5 separate regions of the Homo sapiens genome follow, and all the other regions are linked to region 3. The links are contacts of gene promoters, found by promoter capture Hi-C in blood cells and fetal thymus (Javierre and others, 2016). All regions are on one chromosome and are shown on one strand. The core of a region is centred on a gene start or on the middle of the fragment in contact, and the rest is flanking DNA. Distances in the headings are between cores, read along the strand shown.

What was found. The method cuts DNA at HindIII sites, captures the fragments that hold promoters and counts their contacts. A CHiCAGO score of 5 or more calls a contact.
Region 1: the fragment with the promoter of SASS6 here is called in contact with the fragment with the promoter of DPYD in region 3 in 1 of 17 cell types (total CD8 T cells); the score reaches 5.0 in total CD8 T cells.
Region 2: the fragment with the promoter of RWDD3 here is called in contact with the fragment with the promoter of DPYD in region 3 in 7 of 17 cell types (total B cells, total CD8 T cells, activated CD4 T cells and 4 more); the score reaches 7.1 in total B cells.
Region 4: a contact is called between the fragment with the promoter of SLC30A7 here and the fragment with the promoter of DPYD in region 3, in 4 of 17 cell types (non-activated CD4 T cells, naive CD4 T cells, fetal thymus and 1 more). The highest score is 7.3, in non-activated CD4 T cells.
Region 5: the fragment with the promoter of DBT here is called in contact with the fragment with the promoter of DPYD in region 3 in 1 of 17 cell types (neutrophils); the score reaches 6.4 in neutrophils.

What each region holds. Positions count from the first base shown.
Region 1 is chr1:100,128,704-100,134,800 of GRCh38, forward strand. It overlaps SASS6 (SAS-6 centriolar assembly protein), which reads right to left and starts at 4,227. Exons shown (of 17, transcript NM_194292.3): 1 at 4,047-4,227. The coding sequence starts at 4,111. TRMT13 (tRNA methyltransferase 13) reads left to right here and starts at 4,460. Exons shown (of 11, transcript NM_019083.3): 1 at 4,460-4,612. The coding sequence starts at 4,466. RefSeq lists enhancers at 2,185-2,234, 4,008-4,610, 4,015-4,134, 4,145-4,674 and a silencer at 3,849-4,012. The HindIII fragment of the contact is 1,832 bases long and covers 2,575-4,406 here.
Region 2 is chr1:95,231,357-95,236,834 of GRCh38, forward strand. RWDD3 (RWD domain containing 3) reads left to right here and starts at 2,854. Exons shown (of 4, transcript NM_015485.5): 1 at 2,854-2,959. The coding sequence starts at 2,875. All of the region lies in intron 7 of TLCD4-RWDD3 (TLCD4-RWDD3 readthrough), which reads left to right. It overlaps RWDD3-DT (RWDD3 divergent transcript), which reads right to left and starts at 2,626. Exons shown (of 4, transcript NR_125949.1): 1 at 2,344-2,626. RefSeq lists silencers at 2,595-2,924, 3,135-3,314. The HindIII fragment of the contact is 4,366 bases long and covers 1,849-5,478 here.
Region 3 is chr1:97,919,553-97,925,565 of GRCh38, forward strand. It overlaps DPYD (dihydropyrimidine dehydrogenase), which reads right to left and starts at 1,482. Exons shown (of 23, transcript NM_000110.4): 1 at 1,332-1,482. The coding sequence starts at 1,370. RefSeq lists a silencer at 1,288-1,687. The HindIII fragment of the contact is 4,374 bases long and covers 8-4,381 here.
Region 4 is chr1:100,892,643-100,898,134 of GRCh38, forward strand. SLC30A7 (solute carrier family 30 member 7) reads left to right here and starts at 3,448. Exons shown (of 11, transcript NM_133496.5): 1 at 3,448-3,700; 2 at 3,928-4,029. The coding sequence starts at 3,621. EXTL2 (exostosin like glycosyltransferase 2) reads right to left here and starts at 2,200. Exons shown (of 5, transcript NM_001033025.3): 1 at 1,991-2,200. RefSeq lists enhancers at 1,532-2,255, 2,256-2,978, 2,873-2,942, 3,493-3,742, 3,793-3,952. The HindIII fragment of the contact is 2,158 bases long and covers 2,700-4,857 here.
Region 5 is chr1:100,248,317-100,254,324 of GRCh38, forward strand. It overlaps DBT (dihydrolipoamide branched chain transacylase E2), which reads right to left and starts at 1,518. Exons shown (of 11, transcript NM_001918.5): 1 at 1,454-1,518. The coding sequence starts at 1,504. RefSeq lists enhancers at 687-1,246, 1,247-1,806, 1,408-1,527 and a silencer at 1,638-1,737. The HindIII fragment of the contact is 8,889 bases long and covers 1-6,008 here.

The DNA of each region.
Region 1 (6,097 bases), core at 2,977-5,476, 2.2 Mb after region 3:
AATGTTATTTCTCATCTCAATAGATGTCGTACTCAATAGATGTCTAATACTAATGACATTAGATTTAGTTATGAGTTCTTCTAAATAAAAAGTATTCTAAACATCAGGCTTGCTTTAGCACAACTGGATTCTAGGCCATCTCTGACACCCAGTAGCTGTGCTCTTAAACTATCAATCAAACAAATAAAAGGTACTTTAAGCCAGGTATTGTGCCAGGTGCTAGGGATACAAACAGAAATAAACATGGTCCAGGGGCTTGGCACAGTGGCTCACATCTGTAATCCCAGCACTTTGGGAGGCTGAGGTGGGTGGATCACCTGAGGCCAAGAGTTCAAGACCAGCATGGGCAACATAGCAAAATCCTATCTCTACAAAAAATTTATAAAATGAGCCAGGCATGGTGGTGCATGCCTGTAGTTTCATGTACTCTGGAAGCTGAAGCAGGAGAGCTTAAGACCAAGAGTTTGAGATTACAGTAAGCCATGATTATGACACAACACTCTAGCCTGGGCAACAGAGTGACAGCCTCTCTCTAAAAAAAAAAAAATAATAATTTTTGAACATAGGATGACACAAACAAAACAAAACAAAAAAAACCATGGTCTCTGTCCTCAAATTGAGATGAGATTAATGACTTTTTGCTAGATTTGCTTCTGATTGCATTTTAGGGCTCCATGAGAGGGGAGGGAAGGGTTACCAACACTACTGAGTACCTGCCAGGTATTCTACATATATCATCTTATTTAACAATAATCTTGATAAGTAAATATTATTTATTTTACAAAAGAAGAACTTAAGGCCCAAATAATGGTTTAAGGTCACATTACAGAGCCCAAATGAAAACTCAGATCTTTCACCTACACCACACTATCTAATAACTGAATAATGGCAATTCATTTCAACTTAGGCAACTTTGAAGGGTCCTTATAGTGAAAGGATTTAAGACATACCTGAAAGTTATGAAAGAAAAAAGCATTTGAGGCACAAGGAACAGCAGGGGTAATAGTATAGAATGAGTATCAGGTATATTCAGAAGGTAACAAGAATGCTTGTATGACTTTCATATTGGAGAGATAAGCTTAGGAAACAAAACTGAAAAGGCAGATTAGTGTCAAATCATGGGTTCCAAAATTTTGCATAATTTTCCACCAGATGAAGTTCCCTGATCATTACCACTGTCCTCAACTGAATTTCCTTCTTCTCTGACTTTAGTGTACTTATATTACTTTATGCATTTGTCACACATTAATACCTAAAATTTAGTGAACATTTATTATGCTCTAGTCACTGTTGTAAGCAGTTCATATGTATAATTCATTCCATTCTCATAATACCATGAAGTAGGTACTGTTATTACCATCAACTTAAAGATGAGACACAGAGAAGGAAATTGTACAAGATCTGTCAGTAAGTGGAAGAACTGGGACTTAAACCCAGGCAATCTGGCTCCAGAGCCTGAACTCCTAATCTGTGCTATGGTGCCTGTTCAAGGAAAATCTTATTTCCCCTATTAAAATGTGAGTTCCTTGAGGGACAGAATGAAAAGAGGTTTTTGTTGGCTTTTGTTGTTGTTGGGGACGGAGAGGGGGGTGCGTATTTACATCCTCCACACTTAGGACAGTTCCTGAGACACAGCAGACATTTGCCAGTATTTGTTGAGCTGAACTGGCCTCAAATACTCAACCAAGGCGTCTGGGCTGGGCGTGGTGGCTCACGCCTATAATCCCCGAATTTTGGGAGGCTGGGGTGAGAGGATCACTTGAGCCCAGGTGTTCAAGACCAGCCTGGGCAATACAGGGAGACCCCGTCTCTTTTAAATTAAATTAACAACAAAAAAAAGCCAGGCGTGGTGGTATGCGCCTGTAATTGCAGCTACTCAGGAGGCTAAGGTGAGGGGAACCCTTGGGCCCAGGAGGTCAAGGCTGCAGTGAGCTGTAATCGTGCTACAATACTCCAGTCTGGGCAACAGAGCGAGACTCTGTCTAGAAAAAAAAAAAAAAAGAGAGAGAGAAAGAGAGAGAGTCTGGGTTGTTCTTCCTATAGGTCAAGGATCACCAAATTATTCTGTAAAGGGCCAGATAGCAAATATTTTAGGCTTTGCGGGCCATAAGGTCTCTGTCACAATTACTCATCTCTGCCCTTCCTGTGCAAAAGCAGCTACAATATGTAAACAAATGAGCATGGCTGTATTCCAAGAAAAGTTTATTTACGAAAACAGTGAGCCAACTGGCCCATGTGCTCCAGTTTGCTGACCCCTATTATACAGATAATAGGAATATATTAAAGGTTTCTAAGCAGAGAAATTGAGTTTTTAGATTAACTGTGATGGCAATGTAACCAGAAAGAGACCATCTAGGAGTTTCCATATTGAAACCAAAGTCATGGCCTCCTTTATCTTTCTATAATCATTCTAAAACAGTGTTGTCCAATGGAGATACAATGTAAGCCACAAATGTGAGCCAGGTATGTAATTTTAATTTTTTTCTTTTTCTTTTTTTTTTTTCAGAGACAGGATCTCGCTCTATCACCCAGGCTGGAGTACAGTGGCACAAATAGTAGCTCACTGTAACCTCAAGCTTAGGCTCAAGCAATCCTCCTGTCTTGGCCTCCTAAAGTGCTGGGACTACGGGTGTGAGCCACCATACCTAGCCTACTTTTAAATTTTCTAGAAGTCACATTTTAAAAAGACTTTTAAAAGCAGGTGAAATTAATTTTAATAATACATTGTATTTAACCCAATATACCCAAAAATATTGCCATTTAACACATAATATAAAAATTGACATATTTTACATTCTTTTTTCATAGTAAGTCTTAAAAATCCAACGTGCATTTTCATATGTAAAGCACAACAATTCAGATAAGCCCCATTTCAAATGTCTAATAACCACATGTGGCTAGTGGCTACCATACTGGACAGCATTAAAAGAATGATCAACTAAACCTACAGATCTCCATATGCAGCTGCTGGTTTTGGGACCATCTCCTTGACCGGCTTGCCATTGATTTTTGACCGAATTCTGAACTATATATACTACAGTTTGACATTACTGGCAACTCAATAAGGCAATGTCTTCATTTTTTATGTTACATTTGTACACCACTTAGTTTTCACATACGATTTCACACCTGATCCTCATTACAAACACGTGAATACGCAAAAGATTTCACACCTGATCCTCATTACAAACACGTGAATACGCATGTTATATCAGTTTTACAAATGAGGAAAGAACGTTCAGAGAAAAAAAGAGACAACCATTGAGTGTTAGAACTGAGAAAAAAAAAGTAAGTCTCCTGACCTCTGGTCAAATCTATTTACGCCCCAATAATACCACCTCCTTAATCAAAGTTGCACTTCTCTGTGCGACTGGTCTTTATTTCCTCCAGTGATTGTAAACTCCATGAAGAAAAGGACTGTTTTTCCTGACCACTGTATTCCCAGTGCCCAGTAAGGTGTTTTACAAGGAGGCAATATTTATTGAATGAATTAATGACGTTTCTGCTTTTCTCATTTTTAGTCGGTTAAATGTAATTTACTTTTTTAAAGCAACTGATGTGAAGAGCCAAAGTACGCCACCAAATTGGTAGGTTTTTAAAAGTTGAACTTTACTGCCAACATACTTCAAAAGAGAACGAGGGGGAAAGGCTCGGAGCCAAGGCCTGAGTTCTAGTCCTGACCCTGCCATGAACTGGCTGTGAGCCCTCACGTAAATTTTTTTAACTTCTCTGGGCCAGAGTTCTTATCTGTCAAAAGGGAAGAGTAGGGCTATAATCTTCACGATTCCGTGCACAGGTAGGGTTTTTGACATTAACTTGATGTGAGCCGGCTTCCTAACTCCTCACACCCTTCCTCCAGTCCCCTCTGCAACGGCCGACTTGGTGAGAGAGGTAACCACCGGGCCCTCTGGGTTCCCTATCCGCTTCCTAGGGGGGCCGACTCGACACCTAGGTGCAAGGTGGATCCCACGGGCCAGAACCGCCATCTTTCCCCATTGGCCTGACCCCAACCGCCACCCGCGGGCACTGGATGACGCGGACCTTACCTCTCCTCACAGTCTTTGCATTTCACCTGCAACGGGACTAGTTGGTGGAACAGCACTTGGCTCATGTTGGCTCGCTGCCTCGGCTGGTGTGCAGAAAAGCCCAACAGGCCCGGCCCTCGGGATTAGCCTGAGAGGTCCGGGTCCTGATAAAGTTTGAGTTTGGCGCTCGGCTTCTGCGGAGGAGGCGGGGAGGGAGAAACGAGGGGAAGGCGTAAGAGACTTGGCCCTCGCCAGCCACCATCGGATTCTTCCGGTTCTGCGGAGGATAAAGGGAAGACGGTTGTGGTAGTTCCGGGTATTAACCTGTGTGGCGCGGGGGCTGAGGCAGCCATGTTTGTTAAGGGAAGGAGACCCGAAGGAAGCTTCTAACTTTTCTTCTGGTTGCCGGATGCTGGACACCGGAAGCGAGCCCTAGAATTATGGCGACCTCCGCGACGTCGCCGCACGCGCCTGGTTTTCCAGCTGAGGGTAGATGCGGTTACTATGTGGAAAAGAAGAAACGGTTCTGCAGGATGGTGGTGGCCGCAGGGAAAAGATTTTGTGGTGAACACGCTGGAGCCGCGGAGGTGTGGTATCGCCCTACTCTCTCAAGAGTCGGAAATAAGTATCCTGGTCCTGTCGGTGCTGGAACCCGGCCCCTCCCCTCTTTGACAGCTTTCTGCTTGTGTCCCCTGGATTCTCCAGCTTTCACTTTAATAAACCCAGTTTTGCCCTCCTTGCGGAGCGATTATGAGTTCTAGTGATGAGAAATTTTTTATTTTTCTAAGTAAAGCGCCAGCAGTGACCCATTTATTTTGATCTATTTATCTCGATCTTAACTCATGGTAATGCTAGGTTTTAATTTTTACCCCAAGCTACCGCTCCGTCTTCCTGCTGGAAAGTGGTAGTTTAGAAAAAGTAGTGATTGAAGTCCCAAAGGTTTCACTAGTTGTGTTCTAATTGTTATTTCATGAAAGAGAAGCACTTCTCGTGAATGCGGTTGGAAGAAACTTTCTTTTAAAAATTTAGACTTGAGGCCCGGCGCGGTGGCTCACGCCTGTAATCCCAGCACTTTGGGAGGCCGAGGCGGGCGGATCACTTGAGGTCAGGAGCTCGAGACCAGCCTGGCCAACATGATGAAACCCTCTCTCTACTAAAAATAAGAAAATCAGCCGTGGCGCGAGCTACTAAAATTAAGAAAATCGTGGTGGTGCGAGCCTGTAACCCCAGCTACTCGGGAGGCTGAGGCAGGAGAATCGCTTGAACCCAGGAGGTGGAGGTGGCAATAATCCAAGATCACACCACTGCATTCCAGCCTGGGTGACAGCCAGACTGAATCTCAAAAAAGAAAAAAAAATTTTTTTCGACTTACAGTTTTTAAGAATGCAACTTTGCTGGAATGGGAAGGAAAGATTTTTAAATATATACGAATTGACCTTTTACAATTGAGAACAAAGCATACAATTTTGTTTGATAATTATGCATATAAATGTACTATCAAACACTTTATATTTGTATATATGTATATTACTTTAGGATATATATGAGATGGGAAAATAAAAACCAGAGGAGCAAAATGCTCATAGGAAGAGAGCATGTCCTTATAGTTCCACAGAACTATAAAGAATAAACCAAAGCGATCAGCATCAGATTTCATGCTTCTGAATGTTCAGTATTATTTGCATTATTTTATTTCTTAAGGAATTTATTCTTCTAGACAATATCCAGTGCAGATCAGTCCCCTGACCCCCTTCATCTGCCACTCTCCATCATAGTTGTAGTCTACTTCCTATTTTGTTTTGACTGGCATTTACCAAAAGTGAAGCATACTGAAACAAGGACATTCTTGTTTTGGAATATGGGAGACGTGATTTGTTGTGGGAACTCTGAATTATGCCCATAGTCTATTGACTGGTTTTGAGGGGACTGGCAAACATCCCTTGTTGAAGAATGAGAGTTATGATAGGAGAAGGATTTAGACTCCACCTTATCCAGATATATGGAAGGTGAAAACAAATAGTGATGATAGTAGAATATGAATAAATCCTTACAAGCTGATTAGTATTCCTATA
Region 2 (5,478 bases), core at 1,604-4,103, 2.7 Mb before region 3:
GTTTCCCCCCAAAATGAAAAGAACTATCTTCTGGGTTATTGGTTTTAACTGAAGGTGAAAGGTTTTAAACCTTTTCCCCTTATGGTCTTGGGGAAGCAACTATTTAGAAAATTTGCTTGTAAAAATAATACTTGTAAAAATAATAATTGTTCTAGCAAATCATACACCTTTGTGTGTGTAAGGGTGAGAAGGGAGAGAGAGAGATGGAGGTAGACAATGCTCTAACTGTAGACATTCATCCTACATTTAAATATTTTGAATTTTCAGTAGCCTGTGAATACGAGGAAACTTATTACATTAAGGTAGACTTTAGAGATTTGACATGTAGCTGATATTTTCACAGTGCAAGAAATATCAAGCTGACATTATGCAGTCTCTGAGATGATTATTTCCAAATGTCAGAGTGCAGAAACTTATTCATGGGACTTCAGTGCCTTAGGATAGTGTCAATTTAAAAGACATTCACATTGACTTCTTTTTTATTTAAACATGCTAAATGAGGTATGAAAAGCAGATTAAGAAATCAACTGAGAAAGGAAGAGCAAAGAAGAAACCTATTGACAAGAAAATTTTAAATCATAGATTGATGTACTCTTTAATCAATTTTCATGGACCTATTGCTGACAGCAGGCTTTAGCAACTGCCTCCTAATCCTTCCTACAGCTGTAATTTTGCTCTTCATGTTATTTCACTCATCTCACTTATAGTGAATTTGGAAAATTAAAAATAAGTAAAAACTATTTGAATATTTTATAGATTTTTTTTTGCTCTTGAGACGGAGTCTCGCTTGGTTGCCTAGGCTGGAGTGGTGCAAAGGTGCGATCTCGGCTCACTGCAACCTCCGCCTCCCGGGTTCAAGCGATTCTCCTGCCTCAGCCTCCTGAGTAGCTGGGATGATAGGTGCTTGCCACCACGCCCAGCTAAATTTTGTATTTTTAGTAGAGACAGCATTTCACCATGTTGGTCAGGCTGGTCCCGAACTCCTGACCTCAGGTGATCCACCCGCCTCGGCCTCCCAAAGTGCTGGGCTTACAGGCATGAGCCACTGCGCCCAGCCTATTTTATAGATTATTTTCAATAAATAAGTCAAAAACCAAATTGTTTGACTTTTCATAGTAACACTGGATTTCGAATTAAAATAACTTAGTAATATTTTAAATTAAAAACGTATTCTTTTGTTCAATCTCTTTAGCAGTTAATTATGAACCTACTGAACTGCTGGAACGTCTGTTATTTTGGAAATAAAGGAGTTTTTTTTTTCTTCAAGCCAATTGGCCATATCAGAGATAACTGCATTTAAATAAGCCTTCATCTTCCCAATTATGTGCTCCTAATTACTCGGGGTCACTGAAATCCCATGGCATCTTCTGAAAAGCATTTTCCCTGCAGTCCATCTTGTTAGGTTTCCTTTCTGTTCCGGGAAGCCAGTATCTTTTCCTTTATCAGATTCCTTTTTTACCAACAGCGGGAATGGTAATGGTGAATGGATGCAGGGTTTTAAAATCAGCCAACTTTGTTCTGACTTCCGTAGGTCAGTGACTGGAGTCACTGCCTAACAACCTAAATTCCCAGATTTATCTCATGAAATGTGATTTCTCATACAAACAAAAGTTGTGAGAACTCCATGAGCAAGACCAGCTGCTTGTGGGGACTGCCAAATTTTAAACTGTTATTTGAACAGCAAAAAGACCAGGCAAACATCCGAGAGACAGACCTAACTGCAGATAAGTCTTGTAATCTTGTTCACTATAGTCAAAACAGAATGGATTGCTTATTCTGTTACCCTATTGGTATTGCTCACATTTTAAAATTTAGGTGCTGGGCTCAAGAATGATAATTTTATTATTAAGCTTCAAGAGTCACATTGTATTGTATGCATTGAATATCACGAAATCGAAAACACTGAAAAGCTAGCGTTTACATTCTTGGATCATACCCCCAAAGGCCAAGGATTCCCACTGGCCGCTTGCAGCAGGGCTGTCTCCTGTGAAGGCAAGAGACAAACGAGGAGCGTTATGACACTTTGCTCCCAGGACTTTGGCGCACAGTTCCCATGAGTCCAGGTCCGTCCAGTCAACATCCTGAAGCCAGGACTGGCAGGTCCTGACCCTCCCTTTTTGCACCCGTAAGGGGAAGGGCCCGGGAATCTGGACCTTGTCTAGAGTCCCGGCGCCAGTACCAGTTCGGAGGGCATCCTGGAGGTTGTTACTAACCCGAGCCTCTTCCAGGCTTCCCAGGCACCAGGGTTGCTAACAGCTCCACGGGGGCGAATAATTTTGTTTATTTTGTTAACTGTGGTTATCTCCAACACTCAGTTCAGACCTGAGCCGGGCAAAGTCTCACCTTGTCTCCTGGTCACTTCCCTGCTTGTTTGTTTCTTCCTAACTCCCAAGTGTCTTTCGCCCAGTTCATCCCCACCTCAGCAGCCCAAGGCTCGGCGGGGACGGTCGGGGTTCGAAGCCTGCAGCTAAACTTAGAGGGTTCAGGCTTTGCTGGGAGGCCTCCCTGTGCTCAGAAGAGCCGGGGGTAAGCTGGGCGGTCGCCTTGGGTGCAGACAGAGGCGCAGGGCCTCGGCCTCCAAGAAAATTCCCAAACCGAGAGGCTGAGCTTCGCGTCTGTAGTTACTGAGCAGGAGCTTCTGGGCGGAACTTCTAAGGGCCCCGCCCGCCCCGTCTGCCCTGACCCTCGCCCGGACTCGCCTCGCCCACGTCCCGTTTCGCTTCGCCCCAGCTCCGTCTCGCCCCGCCCCCGTCCCGCCCGGTTGCGGAGGCGCGGGGCGCCCCCGGGTGGCCGCGGGCAGTGCTGCTCCTGGCCGGTGGAGGCGGCGGCTGCGGCAGCGGAAGGGGAAGCGCTGAGGCGGTGGGGCCCACAGCCATGGCGGAGCCTGTGCAGGAGGAGCTCTCGGTCCTGGCCGCGATTTTCTGCAGGCCCCACGAGTGGGAGGTGCTGAGCCGCTCAGGTGACTACCCGCGCGCGGGAGGGACAGGGCGCCCTCAGGGGCCACCCGCGTTCGCTTTGCGTCTCCTCCCCACCACGGAGCCTGGGCACCCCGCCTGGGCCCACGTATGGGGACCGGGTTAGTTGAATGATGGAATGACACGCCCGGAGGCCGGAGTGGTGTCGCAGCGGGCGGGAGTGTGAGGCGACCCCAGAAACACTAAGAGAGCGGCGCGGCCCACTGGGGCCTCTGCCGCCGGTCCCGCTCCCGGAGCCGGGGGCCCCTGCGTGCGCACCCCCAGGCCCTCCCCCAGCCTCCCACCCCTCAGATCTCACCCTATAAAGAAGCCTGTGCTGACGCCCCCTCGTTGTTCTGTGTCCTTCCTAAGCACTATGCCCTAGGCCCCCCCGAGAGCACTCCCCGGTTCTAACTCTACACGGGTATTTGTAGGTCTTAAGTTGCAGGAGGGCAGGGTCTGTTTGGTAATGACTCCAGGCACCTGGTAGGTAGTAGGTAAATGTTTGTTGACTGAACTTTTTCATTTATCCAGTGCTCAACCTCAACTTTATCTGCATTCTATTTCCAAGTTGATTGCTTTTCTGATACTTTTTTTTTTTTAGGTGGAGTCTCTCTTGTTGCCCTGGCTGGAGTGCAGTGGATCCATCTGGACTCACTGCAGCCTCCGCCTCCCGAGTAGCTGGGATCACAGGCGCGTGCCACCATGCCTGGCTGAATTTTATTTATTTTATTTTATTTATTTTTTATTTTTTAAGACGGAGTCTTGCTTTGTCGCCTAGGCTGGAGTGCAGTGGCGCGATCTCGGGTCACTGCAACCTCCGCCTCCCGGGTTCACGCCATTCTCCTGCCTCAGCCTCCCGAGTAGCTGGGACTACAGGCGCCCACCACCACGCCCGGCTAATTTTTTGTATTTTTTTTTTTAGTAGAGACAGGGTTTCACCGTGTTAGCCAGGATGGTCTCGATCTCCGGACCTCGTGGTCCGCCCGCCTCGGCCTCCGAAAGTGCTGGGATTACAGGCGTGAGCCACTGCGCCCGGCCTTTTTTTTTTTTTTTTTTTTTTTTTGAGACAGAGTCTTGTTCTGTCCCCCAGGCTGGAGTGCAGTGGCGCGATCTCGGCTCACTGCAAGCTCCACCTCCTGGGTTCACACCATTCTCCTGCCTCAGCCTCCCGAGTAGCTGGCACTACAGGCGCCTGCCACCATGACTGGCTAATTTTTTGTATTTTTAGTAGAGACGGGGTTTCACCATGTTGGCCAGGCTGGTCTCAATCTCCTGACCTCGTGATCCGCGCGTCTCGGCCTCCCAAGGTGCTGGGATTACAGGCGTGAGCCACAGGTGCCTGGCCTTCTGATACTTTTTTTTAAACAAGCTCTTGAGGGCTTTATTAGTCATTTAGCCCACATTTATTGAATCCCTGCTGCCTACAGACTTTGTCAGGGTTTCAGAGACACCGCTACCCATGGCCTCTAGGAGCTTACAGTGTAGAGAGGTTCTTTTGACTATTTTTTGATGATAGGTGAAACTTACTGTCCCTGTATGTGGCTTCTATTGAATAAAAAAAAAAGAAAAAACACTGCCATGTATGAGAAAGTGACTCAGTTTTCACTTAGCTTTCAGATACATTATGTACATGTTTGGGGCATGAGATTTATCGTTCTAATGTTATATTGTAGCTACCATTAAAATTGGCTTTCTGACCATAAATTGGTTAACCTTTAAGAAGGTAGTCTAGGCCTGGCGCGTGGCTCATGCCTGTAATCCCAGCACTTTGGGAGGCCGAGGCGGGCAGATCACCTGAGGTCAGGAGTTCAAGACCAGCCTGGCCAACATGGCGAAACCCCATCTCTACTAAAAATACAAAAATTAGCTGGGCATGGTGGCACACGCCTGTGATCCTTGCTACTCGGGAGGCTGAGGCAGGAGAATCACTTGAACCCGGGAGGCGGAGGTTGCAGTGAGCCAAGATCTCACCATTCATTGCACTGCAGCCTGGGTAACAAGAGTGAAACTCTGTCTCAGAAAAAAAAAAAAAAAGTAGTCTAAAAATGGGCTGGATGTTGTGAGAAAACCATTTAAGATTAAGATCCTTCATGATATCCATTGGGTGTGTTATTCACTGAAGGACAGGGAGTTGACTTCCATTTATTCCTTCTTGCATTCATCCACTCACATCCACTCATTGGGCACTGTTATGTTCCAGGCACTATGCACCTATTAGTGTAATGGAGTTGCTTTCTTTTTAGTGCCCAGCCTGACTTGTATCTTTTGAAACAATTGTTTAAAATCCATATGAAGGGGTTTACTCACTTTTAGTGTTTTCTTGTCATCCCTCTTCTGATTGGATAATTCTTCACCATCTCCCTCTCTGTCTCCACTGTTCTCTTTATTGATAATTACTTCTGCCTGAGGCAGCTATTTGAAGAGATCATCAGTTTTCCTAAATTCCTTTATTATGGCTCAGTTGGGAATATCCTGGAAAAATGAACCTGCAATTTCCCATCACACCTTAAAGAACTGGTAA
Region 3 (6,013 bases), core at 232-2,731:
TGTCAGAAGCTTGTTTTTCGACTTAGTAAATAAAATTTTTTAAAAAGTTAAGTCAAAGTCACAAGGACCAAAAAGGAATAGACTACCCTAAATGAAATATAGAAAAAGACAAGTATCTATTATCCTGCACACAGATGAACAACTATTTGTTAAATATATCATATTGCTCAATATCAAAAAGTCAACTCTCCAAAACAGAAACCAAAAGTAAACTAACCAGAGATGTCCACATAATACACTTTGGCTCTTGTTACTAAAATGATTTTTCAAACCAAGTTATGGAGCCTGGAGAAAACAGGACTACTTCCTCCCAGAATATAAAGTTTCTTCAATTACGGAGGCAAAATGTGGCAAAAGCAGCTATTTTGCAAACAGGTGGTTTGCAAAACTTTTACTTAAGCCGCCAAAAGGACTGACGAAAGGAAAATTTTGTTATTTCTAAAGAAAACACACACACACATAATTTTCTACCAGAGTAGAAGACTCAAATAAAGAAAAGCCCCAAACAAAACAGAAAACTAAAAATCAGTTTGTCTTAGCTCAAAAGTGCTGACCTAGGTTTAGTATGTGTAAAATCACTGTTGATAATTAAATCCTTTTCATCGCATATATTAAGATACTAGAGAGAAAGGAAATGCCATGTCGTTTCAGGTAGGACCTTATTTACATAAAAAAAGATTTTTTTTAACAGAAACGGAGTGCAAGAGGGAATCAAAAACCGTTGAGAGGAGAGAAAAATACAGTTAGTTTTTCTGAGGGCACTGCATTTTTCATGTTCTGAATACTTCGTTCCATTCTCTCCATGTTAAATTATTTCATAAACAATACTATGACTAGAGGCGACTGCTACAGCTGACACACAGATGTTTTATTTCTATGCTTCACCTTTGCAAATAGCAGGATTCAGCTATTGGAAATGGGGGCAGTGGAGGTGTCCAGAAACGACATACAGGAGGTGAAGGGGTAGAACGTGTGGGAAATGGGCACTCCTACCCCCTAGAGTCCACCTCTCTGGAACTCCAGTGCTTCTTCAGTCACTGACATTCAGAGGAGGACAAGACAGGCTTCCTGAAATCTCTTCCGAAGTAAACAGGTCCCGACGCAAAGGGCAACCCCTCCAGTAGCGGAAAGTCCTCCCCTGAGCTCCCCGCCTGCCCACGCGGGCCTGTGGCTCCGCGCTCCTCCGCTCCCCCGCAGAGCTCCCACGGGGGAAACTTTCCCGCGTCTCTCACTCTCCGGGGTGCGGGGGCCGCGGGGGCCTCCCCGGCACCTACCCGCAGAGCACTCCCCACCACCCCGCCACCACCGACGAGCCGGCGCGAAGTCCGTACCTCGATGTCCGCCGAGTCCTTACTGAGCACAGGGGCCATGGCAGTGCCTACAGTCTCGAGTCTGCCAGTGACAAACCCTCCTTGCGTCCTCAAGCTCCAGCCAGAGAGCCAAGTGACAGCAGCCGGAGCGCGAGTCGAAAACAGGCAGACTAGGGCCGGCGGCGCGGGGGCGGAGCGGGCGCGGGGCGGCAACGCCCCCGGGGCGGGGCTGCGCTCTCGGTCCTGCGGCTCCCGCGCCAGGCACGGCAGCCGCAGCCCGGCCTTCCCAGTTCAGCCCGCTCCGCGCCCCAGCCTGCAAGCAGAAGGGAGGGAGGGAGTAGAGCACCCGCTCTGGGGACTGGCCTTTAATCTCTAAACTGCTAAAAACAGAGCTAGGCAGGCGGGGCCAGATAGGAGGGATCCCCAGGCAAAGGTAAAAGCAGTCCGCGCTCCAAGCAACAACTTGCACTTTTTCTTTTCTTCCACAGAAACCCCGCGAGATGTAGATACATTGTTTGAGGGGCAACTGCATTTTCAGGAACTCCTCAAGGATGAAATAGTAGATGTTCCTCCATCCATCCACCAAGTAGGTGGGCGGGGTTTGAGCTGCAGTGGAGGATACCAAAGCACCGGTCTTCTGAGAGTTCACAGCCCCAGCGGGGAGGGGAGGGAGGCGAGCAAAAACATCCACAGCCCGCAGCAGCATACAGGAAGTGCTGCAGGTGGTACATAATCAAGGTTGTCTTTTTGCAGGAAAGTCTCATTTTAATGGTTATTTTTTTAAATATTTTTTATTCTAAAACGTGAAACTCTTTTGAAAAGTTGCTCTTCGTTTTTGCTCTAGAGCTTGCTGAGGAGAAGGGAGAGATTTCCTGTAGAGTTGGTCCCAATCCAGAAAACATTCACCTCGTTTTTTGAGGATATGTGTACTCCAGACCTCTCTCCTTTTCTCCCCGCCCCCCCCCCACCCCTGTTAGATGCATCCCACCTCTCTTCTACCATAACACTTTCTACTTCCGTTAGGACATTTGCGGCACTCCTTCATGCACTTGGCTAGGTAGTGACACCTTGGAGTCAAGTATTTCTCCCTTATTATTTTTTCATTAGTCCATTCATCGTTTTATTCAACGAATATGTTTATTGAGCATTTTCAATATGCCAGACACAGACACTGTGCTAGGTTCTCCGGATATAGTCTTCAAGAATACACATCACTGTCATGGAGATTATACTCAAAATAAGCAAGTAAGAAAATGTGATGCCTGCTTGTAAGATAAAAGAAAAATAGGACAGAATAACTAGGGTATGGGTACCTTGCGTGGTTGAGAAGGCTTCTCTGAACAAACCATCAGATTACCTTCCAGAACCTGGAAATTACTAAAAGACAGATACATTTTTCTTGAATCAAATATTAACAGACACTAGAAAGTTAAATGGAAACCTTAGAATCATCTTTGACTCCTTTATCCTTATTGCCTCATTTAATCTATGCCCAAACTCTCAGAAGTCAACCTCCTAAATAGATTTTGAATCATTCATTTCTCCATTTTGCTGCATCCACCATGGTCCAAGCTACTGGTATTCTAGCTTCTATTCTTACCTCATATCCATACCAGATTGAGCTTTAGAAAGTATTAACTGGCTCATGCCATACAACGATACATCCACACACCCAGGTACCCATGGTATAAATCCTTCAATGGTCCATTGCAGTCAGAATATAATACAAACTCCCTAGTAACCGCTGAATAACCTGCTCTACTCCGCTTCTCCGCCACTCTTGCCCTGACTCATTATGTTCCAACCACAAGGTAATCTTCTCATCCTCCATCCACTTCTCTACCTTTGCACATTGCCCTCCACTTGGAGCTCTTCTTCCCCTTCTACTCATCATTTAGGTCTCACTGAAGCCTTTATGATCTAACCCCATCACCAACAAAATTACACCCACTCTGTCTTTTTCATTATATTTCGTCTTCATAGACTTTTCAAATGTTGTTTAAATATTTATTTGAATGTGATTCATTTAATATATGTCTTCTATTTAGAGAGGAAGCTCCAGGAAGAGGGGGCCCATGTGTACTTTTATTGTTTACTGGATACTCAGTTCCTAGCTCAGGACTGAAGCATAAGAGACCAAGAACACTTGGTGATTGAATGAACAGAGTACATTCGTTTATACACTGGGCAGTTCATTTTAGAAACTTTAGTTTCTCTGCATCACATATTCTCATTGTCCTACTTACTGCTGAGAAATAGGTCACAATATCTATCAATGAATTTGTAGTTAAAATGGGTCAAAATAACTACTTATCTTTTCATGGAGTAATGTTCCAAAGTCAGATGTTCCTGCATCTCCCTACAACCACACCTTACCCACTTACTCTAGATCCTCTTGGAGATATAGAGAGATAGATAAATCTATCTATATCTATTTTTCTATCAGTCTATATATATAAATACACATATAAACACCCAAATACATACATACATATACACACATATGTATATATTGAGAAAAGATATACACATATAAACATATATAAATTTACAAATATAATATATATAATTATAATACATATGATTTCTTCCCCAATTTAATCAGTCAGGTTCAATGTTCAATTTCCTAACTTACAGGGATACAGGCTTATTGCTCTTTCAGGTTACACTTTAACATACATCTTATCAGTTAGCAATTGATAGTTAATTTATGTGTACAAGAATCCAAGTTATCTTTAAGAGTTATACAGTGTATTTTCATATTCGTTTTCTGTTATAATTCTCCTAAACAACTATAGAGGATAAGTCCAATATACGGTGGTTTTCCAAAGATAAGAGTTTCATCGGTGATAGTCAATAATCAAATATAAAATTTAAATGCTATTTACCATCCCCCCCAACTTCATCAAACAGATGTATCCTGTTCTGACATATTAATTAAGGCATCTAATCACATTGCTCACGTGCCACACCTATGCTCTGTGATCAGTGATTTAATCTAATAATATTTTAAATTCATTGAAATTGCACATTAAGCACAGTTGTACCTGTAAATAATGCAAGCTGTTTAAAGCTTTTACTGCAAATGCATTTGCACCACACTTTTTAAAAGTTGTAAATTATGATGGCGTTTGTCAAGCTGTCCCTCCATCTGGAAGCACAGTGAAATATCAGGTGTTCCACATTAATTTTTTGTAGGCTTTGGAGAAACAGCTTATGTTTGAACCTAATAGTTTACAGTACATAAATGAATATTATTACTACCAAAGTCAGAAGTAGGACTTATGAGTCATCTTTAATTTCACATCTAAAAAGTTATTCAATATTACAAATTTAGAAACACAACAAAAATTCAGATTTCCATATGCCTTTATTTTCCCTTTGCAGTGTAGCATTAAGAGATTTTTTTTGGTGGGGGACATTTCTTTGAAAATGATTTCCTCCCAAAAAGTCAGAGGCTGAATGATCATGAGGTGCATTTTTTCCGCTGTCTGATTTTCAAGGGCCAAATTAATTCCTACCCATATTGACCAGTAGGATAATGACTAAAGATCAGTTAGGCCCAAATATTTCCAGCATTCCTGTTAAAAAGACCAAAAGGAATACGTTGGTTCATATTTCATGGAACAAACAGTATAATGTGCTCAACTACATGTCTATCATATTGCATATATAGATATGCAGTATATCAGCATGTATTATGTAAATGCCATAAAAAGCACAGATAACACAGAGAAACTACAAACCTCTCCCATAAATTTATTTAGCAATTATTTATTGAGTACAATTGTTTCAGACACTGTCATAAGCATTAGTGACATCTCAGTGGACAATAGAGACATTGTCTCTGTTACCACAAACCTTTAGCCACTAAATGAAAAACAAAAATTGCCGCTTAGTGATTTTAAATGAGTGGTTTAACTGAATGGATTACTATGAGAGTCAGATGTCAAAATATATGCAATAGTATTTTGTAAATTGAACAGTGTCATATAAATTAAATATTACAAATTTAAAGATATAATCTTTCAATGCCCACGTTCCCACGTTCTAGAAAAATGTCATTAATGCATGATTGCCTATGAAAGATTTTGGGTAAAATGCAGTGTAAGGGGAAAGTTTATAGACTTATCTAACTTAAAGTGGGGGAAAACATCCTTTAGAATGAATGTCCCCTGAAATAATTTGCCTTACTACTTAGGGGTCTTTTCCTTGGCCTTGTTGGTTTCCTCTCACCATCTAATATTGTCACAATTCCAAGAACTGGCATTTAAAGTGGTTTCTTGTTTTATTGCTGGAATTTTATTGTTTTATAATTTCTAGTTCATTTACATTTGAGCAAGTTCTTCATATCCTTGCCTTAAAGTATGTATTTTCCCTTTTGGTTATCTGTAGCAGATGTTATGATGTGCTTCACAGATCACCACCCATCCCCCAACCCATTCAAAACTGAGGCACTCATTCTCTCAGCTCCTGGGAATGTTAGTGGTTGACAGCTGTCTGCTGAGTCCCTCTCTGGAAATTGCCCCTGGCTAAGAGAGACATCTCACTGGAAGTTCAAGCCCTTTCCTGGGGTAGCAGATATCCAATGACAGTTGATGTGGGAATTTAAAGGCTGGGCCCTTGCCTCAATTCAAGACACCTTTTAGGGGCCATCCCACCTTCAGAGGTCCCTCAAGGGATTAGCTGGGACATAAGTTGGG
Region 4 (5,492 bases), core at 2,198-4,697, 3.0 Mb after region 3:
AGAGAACCCTAATATAAGGATCCAGAAGCAAAATAAATGCACACGATCCCAACTATCTAATGTTACACATTTGAAACCAGAGGATGTATGCCATGGAGCAAAACATTTGAACATGTCAGCAATTTGCACTTGTATCCAGTTTCTAGATTTATATGAATTTGTATTCTTATGTACCTTTACAACTCCTTTTTTAACCAGCAGTTCCCAGGGCGCTCAATTTGAAGCATCTAAAAGGGTCAAACAGGGTTGCAGATAAATGCCAGGGTTGATTACTGAGGAATGACAGATAGCATCTTTCCTATTCCTTGCTGACCATTGCCCAAAAGGAGCTGAAACCATGACTGAAATGAGCTTCTGCCCCTTAATTCTCTCTGCTTTCATTTCTCAGAATCCTCAGTCACACGTCTGAGCAGCTGGGGTTTTTCCACCCATAGAGTCTGCATAGCTAACCTAATGCAATTAGTTGGTAGGAGAGATATAAAAACATATTTAAAAGTTCAGGGTAGAAATCCATTTTTTAGTTTAAAAATGTTCAATAGTATATGTATTTTATGATCTTATAAACCGATTTAATCTTGTAACATACAAAGGAATTAAGAATTCTGATTGGTGACTTGCAAGATACCATTTGAACAGAGTTGAAGAATCATTTTTGATTTTCCAATACGACATATTGAAAGGGCAAAAGGAATGGCTTAGTATTTATGGAAAGACTTACTGAGTGACAGCTGTCCCTTCACACTGCTCCAAGGGCATCCCTTGTGTAAATTTTAAACATCACAGAGTTCTAAAAGACGAGACTGATTTGCCTGTCACAACCCCCCCCTTTCTTCATAACTACTCTTTTCCATAAAATTCCTCCAGGGAAGGAACTTTTTATTTATCTGGCTTTGTATCCCCAGCACCCAGCACAGAGCCTGGCACATAGAAGACATTCATTAAATGACTGTTGAATGAATGAAAGAAACAAATTTGATATGACAACAAAGATAGGTTAACATATATGGGACAAACATTATTTGACAATGACAAAAGAAGTGAGGCACAGCCTGACGTTTTTCACTCATAGAACTTTTCCTGATTTAAATAGTGTCCACCTACACTTTTATATTGCAAATAAAATGCCTTTAGTTTTAAATTTGGTCATTATGCTCTTTAAGACTGAAAGATGTGAAGACATCACCATCACTTTTTGAAAGGAGAAGGTCCTCATGGGAATACCTATCATATATCTTGGGGGATGGGGAGTGGGGGAATTTGGGAGTCTCTGGAAACTGATGTAACTGAAATTAAACTTCAATTTCTCGTACCCATTTCAAAACTATTTGAAAAGAGGTAATGTAGGTTTCTCCATAAACCACTTAAGCGATTTCTGATTTGTAGCAATACAGTATAAAATATAGGACTTATTTTCAAAGGCAGAATACAAAAAAGTTCAAAATGCAGCTGACCTTGATGAGTTAGGATTATGCTGGAAATCAGTTGCTGAAATTTAATTATTTCTATTACTTCTCCCGCCTTCTCCCAAGTTAAATCATATTGAATAAGGGCGTTTTGGAGAAAAATCCAATTACCATAGAATTATTTATCTTTAAACTATCTAGTTTGCACCCAATTAATTTTTCCTCAGCAGTGCAGTAGAGTAAAATTCAAGGTCTACTGCTAATACAAAAACTTCCTTCCAAAAAAAGAGTAAATGCTACTAATTTTAAATATTTCTACACTTAAATTAAAAGAATGAAATATACGCTAACAAAGGCAAATACAAAATACTCTTCCCAGAACTTACTTCTGAAACCTAGCTGTTTTTACACAGCAGTTTTAATTAACATTTTTCAAAATTGTAGAATAAGTACATATTTTCAAAAATAAAACCACCGAATACTCCATACACACACACAAAGTTCTCAGAACGAGAGCAAAACATGCATATATCCTCACTACAAAAAGAAAAATACTAATACTGGAGCATTTTGCTGTGTCTCCTTACCTCGAGTGCAGTAGATTGCAGTAGGGCCAGCCGATTTATTTCCCTGCAGCTTAGTTATCATAAAACGGAAGGGGCGTCTCGTTTGCTCATTTTTGTTTTTTTTTCTAAACCAAGTAGCGTGCATCTATCCTTCTCCATTAGCTGGATTAACAACCTGGAAAAAGTGCCGCCCGCAAAGTGAGCGCCTGGAGCAAGGGACAGTCCCCGAGTGGCCGCCCCTCCCTTTCGGTGACGCTCCACTTCCTGTCGGCCTAAAAGGCATTCCCAGGAAGCTCGGTTTTGTAGTTTCCAGCCCACCTCCGAAAGCCAATCCTTTCCTCCATTTCTTCTCCAAGGTAACAACTTTTAAACATTCACGTGACGGACCACCTTCCCTCAGCCAAACAACTTCCCTGAAAGGCGCCCGAAGGAGCCTTCCCATCCACCGCGGGTGCCCAGGAAAGGCCTGTGGGGCTCTCCTCCCCGCGCTCCACACGCCCTCGCATCCCACCGAGGGGCCAGCTTCTGCCTGCACGTTGCTGAAACTGGCCTGGAGGTTCTGACAAGAATTAGAGCGGCGGCCGTTGCCCCGGGGATGACCTGGAAGCGAAAGAGACCGGCACGAATTCTAGAGTTTCGGGGTTTCCGCGGGTTGAGATTGTACGGGAAACAATGCATTAACCAAACCTAAAAATCAAACAAACACGTCTGGTAGAACCTACCATTAAAAAGCTTCTTTCCTATACTACGTTTAACAGCCTTTATTTTGAAAGACATTGATTGATGCCAGGCATGGTGGCGCACGCCTGAGGTCTCAGCTACTCCGGAGGCTGAGGAGGATCACTTGCGTCCGGGAGTTCCAGGCTGTAGTGAGCCTCATTGTGCTCCAGCCTAGGTGACAGGGCGAGACCTTGTCTCTTAAAAAAATAAAGAAAGAAAAACATTGATCGCCTCCTGCGTGGCAGTCCAGAAGGGTCAAGCGCTGTTTTCGGGGTGGCGTGGAATGGATTCCTAAGATTTGGGCGCCCATAGAGTTAACGCAGCAAAACGATCACTTGCGTTTCCTGCGGACTGGCGGCAATAGAACACGTGGCTGCCTAGACTCTTAATCACTGATATCTACCACACCAGGATTTAATGCCAGTTGGGAGGAAATGGCGAAAGGGCAGGCGCTGGAGCCCATGCATCCGGGAACACTGGTGGTAGGCGGTCGGGTGGGCGTGAGCGGGCTCTCCATCTCCCAGCCCAGTCTGCAGGTCGCCACCTCAGGATTTTCTTCCTGAGTCCGGGTGGCAGGATTCCATCCCAGGTCAGCCCCTCACACCCCCTGGTAGTTGCCACCTCCTGGCGTCCCTCCAACAGCTCCAGCACCTTTCTCATCCCGCCCCCGCCGCAAGCCACGCCCTCCGCCGCGCAGGCCCCGCCCGCGACCGGCCTCCCTCCTTTCCTGTCCCAGGACGCGTTGCGCGGCCCGGGCCGGAAGTAAGCGAATTCCCGGGTGTGTGTCTGTGTCTGTCTGTGTCTCGCAGCGGCGCGCGGCCCCGGACAAGCGCTGGGGATTCCCGTTTGAGGCGTCACTACTGTCACTGCCATCACCCCACGGAGCCACTTCTAGAGGGGAGTAGACCCGGCCCTTCGCCGGGCAGAGAAGATGTTGCCCCTGTCCATCAAAGACGATGAATACAAACCACCCAAGTTCAATTTGTTCGGCAAGATCTCGGGCTGGTTTAGGTGCGGGGTGCTGTGTTTGCGGGGAGGGGGTGTCCGGCAGAAAGGGAGAAGGCCCAGACCTCAGGATGGCCCGAGGTCCAGTGAGGGAGAGTCAAAAACTCCCCGTCAACCCCTAGCTGTGAAGAAAGGAGCATGTGAACTGGGAGGGTCTTGAAGAGGGTACCCAGCCTCGGGGTCCCGGCACCTCCTTAACTCTCCCGGCTCTTTTCCACGTGTATCATTCCCAGGTCTATACTGTCCGACAAGACTTCCCGGAACCTGTTTTTCTTCCTGTGCCTGAACCTCTCTTTCGCTTTTGTGGAACTACTCTACGGCATCTGGAGCAACTGGTAACCAAAGGGGAAAATGGTTTGGGCGGAAGCTGGGTGTGAGGGAGACGAAGCACTGTTTGCTTAATGCCACGTAGCTCCTCACTAGGAGGTTCAGGTCCTACCTTTGTTACCTACCTCTGCTGCTGAGTTGCTTTCTCATACCCACACCAATCTGGTAGGGCTACAGTTCTTGAGTAAGATCTGGGCCTATCCTGTGCAACCTCTCTTGTCACGCTCCCCTCCAGTTCCATCAGACAAGACTGACAAGCCCCTCCTTATTTTAGCAGATGGGCAGAATCTTTCATTTCTAATTGTAGGCCTTAGGTTTACCCACTTTGTTGGAATTGGGAGAAACTTGTTTGCTGCCTCTCTCGGGGGGGAGTGGCATTTGGATTTCACCCTTAAGATTCTGAGAGAGTATATCTGAGATGTTCTACTTAGTTTGTTATTGGGGCTTGGAATGGGAGGTTTTATAAAGTGATATCGGGAGGAATATGTGTCATTCTCTTCTCTCTTTAATGCCGAAACTGTCTCATGATTTTCCTGTAGTCTTAACTGCGATGTAAAAATCCCATATAGTTTCTAGAAACAACATTTCTTGGGTTTTGGTGGCACCTTTGAGGGTTTTTGTTTTTTTTGAAACATCCTTAGGAGGAGGAAAATCTAGTGTGTAACTCTGTGGCAGTGAAGTTACTATTATTCAGGTATTTGCTGTTGAGTAACTTAAGGTCTTATGAAGTTGTTCTGCTAACAAGACTGTCACACTCCTAGGTGTACTAATTCTGTCTTTAGATCCCATACTCCTTCAAAAATCTGATGAAAGCCAATACTCAGAATTGTACATAAAGCTTCAGGATGTTGTTGGGTTCCCTGTACTAAATCTTGGACTCTAGATTAAGAACCTGTTTTCTATTTATTAAATAGACTTAGTCTCTGTTGTTTAAGACCCATTTTCAGAGAAAATCGCTGTCCTTGATCTTCTGTTGAGATCAAACATTGACAGGTAATATCACCAGGTTTTGTGACATGTATACTTTTATATAATGCTTGGGCTTCTTTCAATTCAACCGTCAATTCAGTTCTATAAAAAATACTCAATAACCAGCAGATTATGAAGGTTATTGGTTTAGTCAACAGTTGGGTATAAAGGCATATTGGCACAATGAAATCTTAATATATGTAATAACCATTTTGAATCCTTTGGGAATCAGATGTGTTAATTTGAAGGATACCCCATCATAGATTAATTTTTTAATCCCATAGTATTAACACACTTTAATATACTGTAGATGTTGAAAGCACTTGTACTTGAATAATCATACTTTATCATAAATATATAATATTTACAGTATATTTTACATTTTTCTCTTCCTAAATTATGCCAAATTAATTTTGGGATATGTGCTGATTGTATCAGGAGTGTATCATAGCTTATATATGCATATTTTGTATCAAGAGTGTATCATAGCTTGTATATGCAT
Region 5 (6,008 bases), core at 268-2,767, 2.3 Mb after region 3:
AATGTGAGCTGACATCTAATTGGGGATGCTCTGTATGCATGGATACTTAATTTCCTATTTATTGGTTGGGTTTTTAATTGCAGCTGGAAAACATCACGTACATATGAAACTGGAGATTTCCAGGACAGTAGGATATATGGGTTTGGAGTAGACCTGGTTGGAAGACTGGGGAACTTTAGGACTCATCAGCATAGATGGTAACTAAAGCCAAAGAGTGGATGGGATAACCCAGAAAGTGGGAAAAGTGCAGAGGGCCAAAGTCAGAGCCCTTTAGAAAAAGCAATATTTAAAAGGCGGGAAGGGAAACAGGATATTGGGATGAAGTGGCCAAAGATGAAGAAAGAATAATATTGGGAAACTGGTGTCACAGAAAACAAGAATGGAAAGCTCTAGAAAGAAGAGAGACCAATATGTGTTAAGTGTTGCTGAGAAGAGCTCTCTTCTCCTGGTTATCTCTTACTTATCCTTCTTACATCTCAAGTCATACAGTATCCTCTGGGAACTCCTCTGACCCCCAAGTCCACCATAGGTGTCCACTCCTGTGTGTTCCTGTAGTTCTAGGCACTTGTCCCATCACAGTACCTCTCATGCTGGGTTGTAATTTCTATCTGTCTCCCTCTCCTTTGTCCTCCACCACAAGGTTGTAATCTCTTGAGAAGGAAGATATGATGTCTATTTCATATTTGTATCTCCAGTGCCTAACACAGCACTGGTACATAGCAGGCTCTTGAAAGTTTTTGTAAGATCGGGGTCACCAAGGCAGGAGCATCTAGGGAAAGGGAGAAGAGGCAGGAAGAAGAAACACTAAGCAAATAGGGGTAACAAGTATCATTACCGGTATGTGTCAGTGCTTGGTGCTAAGACTGGGAGAAAGAGAAGGAAGTGCAGGGGAGATGGTGATGGGTCACAGCCTTGGTGACAAAAGGGTAGGAATGATATGTGGTGCGGACATAGAAGTACAAGGCAAAAGAGTGACGCCGAGCTGCTCAGTTCTTCGGAAGCAGGGACCCCTGCTGATATTCTATAACTTGAACGGCCTCTTCCTCTACACACTGTAGATTCCTTGAGGGTAGGGGTCGTGTTACCAGTGTTTGGCATACTGTGGGTACGCAATAAATGCTAAACGAATATATCTCTGGATCCACAGCGCCTATCACAATGCCTGGGCACCTGGAAGGCGCTCAATAAAACGCTAGCTGGGCCTCGGGGTACAGATGGAGCAGGACGGCTGAGTCGCTGCAGAAGCGCTTCCAGGTAAGGGGAGGGAGTGGGTTTCCACTCCAGACTGGTCGACTCGCTCCGTTCTCTGCCCTTTATTTTGCATGCATCCCTTCACCTCTCCATCACGCGTGCCCTGGACGCCTGGCACCGGAGGAGAAAGTAAAACACCACTCCTGGATGACTCCGGACAAATCACTCCTTCCCGGCCTCAGATCTGCCCAAACGTGCTTACCAGCTTCCCCGCATTCCTGCTCCAGGTTCTCAGCATACGGACTGCAGCCATCTTACCCCGGAAATGACAACAGTGCCGCAAACTGGAGAGACTCTCCTCGGCGCGGCCTATCAGGAGATGGGAAACGCGCCTCCCCCTGGGCGACCAATAGGGAGGGAAGAAACGAGCCTCCCACCCAACAGCCAACCAAGGAGTAGGGCGGAGCCTGAGCTAAACCCTAGGATCTGGGACCCAGCGGGGAGTGAAAAGAGCCTGGGGGACGGAGGCGGGGCAGAGGGCAGCCCAAATTTAACACTGCTGTGTAAATACAGATGCACCAAAGATAATCTTTTTAGTGTATGTGATGGGGAAAATAGAGAGTGTTAAGGAAACACAAAGAAAGGTACTTACCTCAAGAAAGTTATGTTGCAGTAGGACCTGAGCGATGAGTTGGAAAACATTTCCCCGTCTTCATCTTGTAGTGTAGCCGCCCCAAATACAGAAAATAGAATATTTCTATACGTTGTAGCAAGGCTCTGGACAACTAGTTGTTTCACAAGTCCATACAGCAGTACTTCCCAATGACTGCCTTTTTTACTCCCATTTATGTTTTTGATTACCAAAATTGGCTAATCAATTTTTTTCATGAAAGATGAACATTACCTAATGTCTAAAATAAACATGTTATCATCTTTCTTTTTACAGACTGCTATCAGATGCAGCTAACTAGCATATGCAATACATGTCACAGACACATGATCTTGATTTAGTTGTCTCTTAAAGAAATGTCAAATTCAGGTCAAGTGGAACTGGTAAAGAACAGATCAGAGCTTTCTTTTAAAAGGCAATCTTCCTCAGAGCAACTAGGAAACCAATTCCTGGAAATGTCCAGGATGACATTAGTCTGTTATTGCTTCTTACGTGGGAATGAAAATCTGCACAGATGTCTAAGGAATTACAGAGAAAAAAAACTGGAACAAATACATTTTAAATGCTCAACATTGAAGATTAGTGGTTATGAAACAAAATCTCAGGTATTTCACAACTTCATTGTTTAATATGACCCAAACACTTTTCCCCCTCATTTGCCATTTTATGTATTACACATCTACACACAAAAAATCAATGCAAACAATAAATCTTATTATCTTTTTTGTTTGTTTGTTTGTTTGGTAGAGATAGGGTCTCTTGGGCCAGGCGTGGTGGCTCCTGCCCATAATTCCAGCACTTTGGGAGGCTGAGGCAGGCAAATGGCTTGAGCTCAGAAGTTCAAGATGGGATCTCTCTATGTTGCCCAGGCTGGTCTCAAAGTCCTGGTCTCAAACTGCGATCTTCCCATTTCAGCCTCCCAAAGTCCTAGGATTACAGGCATGAGCCACTGGGTCCGGCCTAAATAGCTATCTTTCTCAGAAAATCTAGAGTAGTCAAAAGAATTTCAAGTTTTTACATTTCCTTAAAAATGTTTATAGACATTATTAATATATTTGATAATCCCACAAGCATGTGTTTGTATAAAAAGCAGTGGCAGTTGTACCTTTGAAGTGAATCATCTCCCTTCCAAGCTGCTGCTATACAACTTTCTTTGTCCTAATTTCGTTTTTAACTGTACCTGCTCCTCAGAAGATAACTAGTTTATTTTCCTTTACCGTCTTCTTATGTCAATGGATTCTTGCTTCTATATTCAGTATAATATGTGTCCTTATCTTTCATTCCAGCATCTGGAAAGAAATACACCATCTATTCCCTAGTTAATTCTTTTATTCGAGTTTGAAAGAAACAAAGACCCCATTTCTTCTCTTTTTTTAGATTTAAAAATGGCCAGTTATGACCCACCAATTCCACTCCTGGATAGCTACATAAGAGAAATGACAACAGTGTTCACACAAAGACTTGAATAGGAATAATCATAACAGCATAACAGCCAAAATCTAGAAACAGCCCAGATGTCCATTAACAGGTGAATAAACAAAATGTGGTACATCCATATTCTGAAATATTATTCATCCTTAAAAATGACTGAATTAGCGATAATTGCTATGACATGGATGAATGTCAAAAAAATATTATGCTAAGTAAAAGAATACAAGCACAAAAGATCACATATTACATTATTCCATTTAAATTAAATGTCCAGAAAATGTTGATTTATAGAGATGAAAAACAGATTAGTTTTAGTTATATTAGTTATATAATAAGATTATATTAGTATTATTAATTAATAAGGTTAGCATTAGAAAACAAATTCGCCTGGGGCTAGAGGTGGAAGGGGCAGTGATTGCAGAGGCAAGAGAGATTTTTTTTGTGGTGATGAAAATTTTCTGTTGCCACTTTGTGGCAATGATTGCATAATTCTGTACATTTACTAAAAATCTTTGAATTATACACTTAAGACAGGTGAATTTTATGGTATGTAAAGTACACCATAATAAAGCTGTTAAAACTGTGTTATATGAGACAATAATGAACATATGAATAAAAACAAATACATAAGTCTGGACGTGGTGGCTCATGCCTGTAATCCCAGCACATTGGGAGGCGAAGGCGGGTAGATCACGAGGTCAGCAGTTCGAGACCAGCCTGGCCAACATAGTGAAACCCCATCTCTACTAAAAATACAAAAATTAGCCAGGCATGGTGGCATGCGCCTGTAGTCCCAGATACTCGGGAGGCTGAGGCAGGAGAATTGCTTAAATCTGGGAGGCGAAGGTTGTGGTGAGCCAAGATTGTGCCATTGCACTCCAGCCTGGGCAATAGAGCAAGATTCCATCTCAAAACAATACAAAACAAATACATATGTCACATGATAATATAACAAAAACCCTTGAACCTATCACTCAACTTTAAGAAATAGAACCTATGGAAAAACACATTATGTAGGTTGTCTAAAAATAAAATACATTTTAAACTAAAAAAAAAAGAAATAGAATCTTTCCCGTTAGTGAAGATCACTGTCTGCTCCTTCCTTTACCTCTCCCCTTCATAAGCGTTATCTTGAATTGTGTTTTTCATTCCTTTGTTTATTTTAGAATTGACCACATATACATATATGGATGGATGCCTAGTAACATATTATTTACTTTTGCTTGTTTTTGAGTCTCATAAAAATGGTATTAAACTGTATGTATCTTTCTGCAACTAGTTTTTCTGACATGATTTATTTATCCATTCTCTACTGAGTGGATATTTGTGCTATTTCTAGTTATTTGCTATTACCGTCAGTGCTGTTATGAACATTCTTGATCATTTCTCCTGGTGCATGTTCTAGGGTTTCTTTAGCACAGCGCTTCTCAGACATTAATGAGCATTCATAGCAACCGGGGATCTTGTTAACAAGCAGATTCTAATTCAGTAAATGTGGGTAAACCTGCCATTCTGCATTTCTAACAAGCTCCAGGTGATACAAATGCTATTGGTTAGCCAACTACACTTTGATTAGTAGGCTTAGGATAAATACCTAAAAGTTGAATTGTTGAAACAGGGGTTATGTTTATCTTCAAGTTTACTCTAGATAATACGAGATTGTTTTCCAATGTGATTGTACAAACTACATGCCTAGCTGCTGTATGTTTATTGTTTCTCATTTGATATTGTCAGATTTAAAATTTTCCCCCAATTTAGTAATTATAAAATGATGTTATAATCTTAATTTGAATTTCCCTGATTATTAATAAAGTTGAGCATGTTTCTACATGTTTATTAGCCATTCTTAGAGTGCTTGCTCAATTGTTGATATTTCTAAGATGGTTGTCTATGTTACTTTCTATAAATGTGGGACAAAGTAAGATGAAACAATTTATCCTTAAGAAAATGACTGTGGGACAGGTACGGCGGCTCTGTAATCCCAGCACTTTGGAAGGCCAAGGCGGGAGGATCGCGTGAGCTCAGGAGTTTGTGACCAGCTTGGGCAACATGGCAAAACCCCATCTCTACAAAAAATTAGCTGGGGGTAGTGGCGTGTGCCTGTAGTCCTACAGACTGAGGCGAGAGGATCACTTGAGCTCTGGAGCTCGAGGCTGCAGTAAGTTGTGATTGCATCACTGCACTCCAGCCTAGACAACAGGGCAAGACCCTGCCTAAAAGAAAAAAAAAATAGAACATGACTGTGGCTTCGTTAAATTGACACTCTGCTCTATTCAATGGAATTCTCAGAAAGAGTGACGTTTACCAAAATGCAAGATGCTAATTAATGAAGGTCTTAAATTACTTGTTTGGCTCCTTGGTGTGCCTGACTGGTGTAGAAAAATCTGAGGATGACCTTCTGAATTCTGCTCTGAATTCTAAGTGGTCAGGAGATAAATGTAGCCTAGAGTCAGCCCCTGCATTGACCATTACCCCAAAATATACCAACACATGCTTGCCAGAGCTACTGTAGTTTAACTATTTATGAATTTTGAGGACTTTTAATAGCCTAAGTATTTAAATATCATTACTTATTTAGAAACTGTTCCAATATATGCTTAGTCAACTATGTTAATATAGAGTTGTATGTATTGTATATAATACAGATATATATTTTGTTTAATATGGATAGTTTGTAGTGATTCATTAAGAGTTTGAATTATATATAGATCTGCCT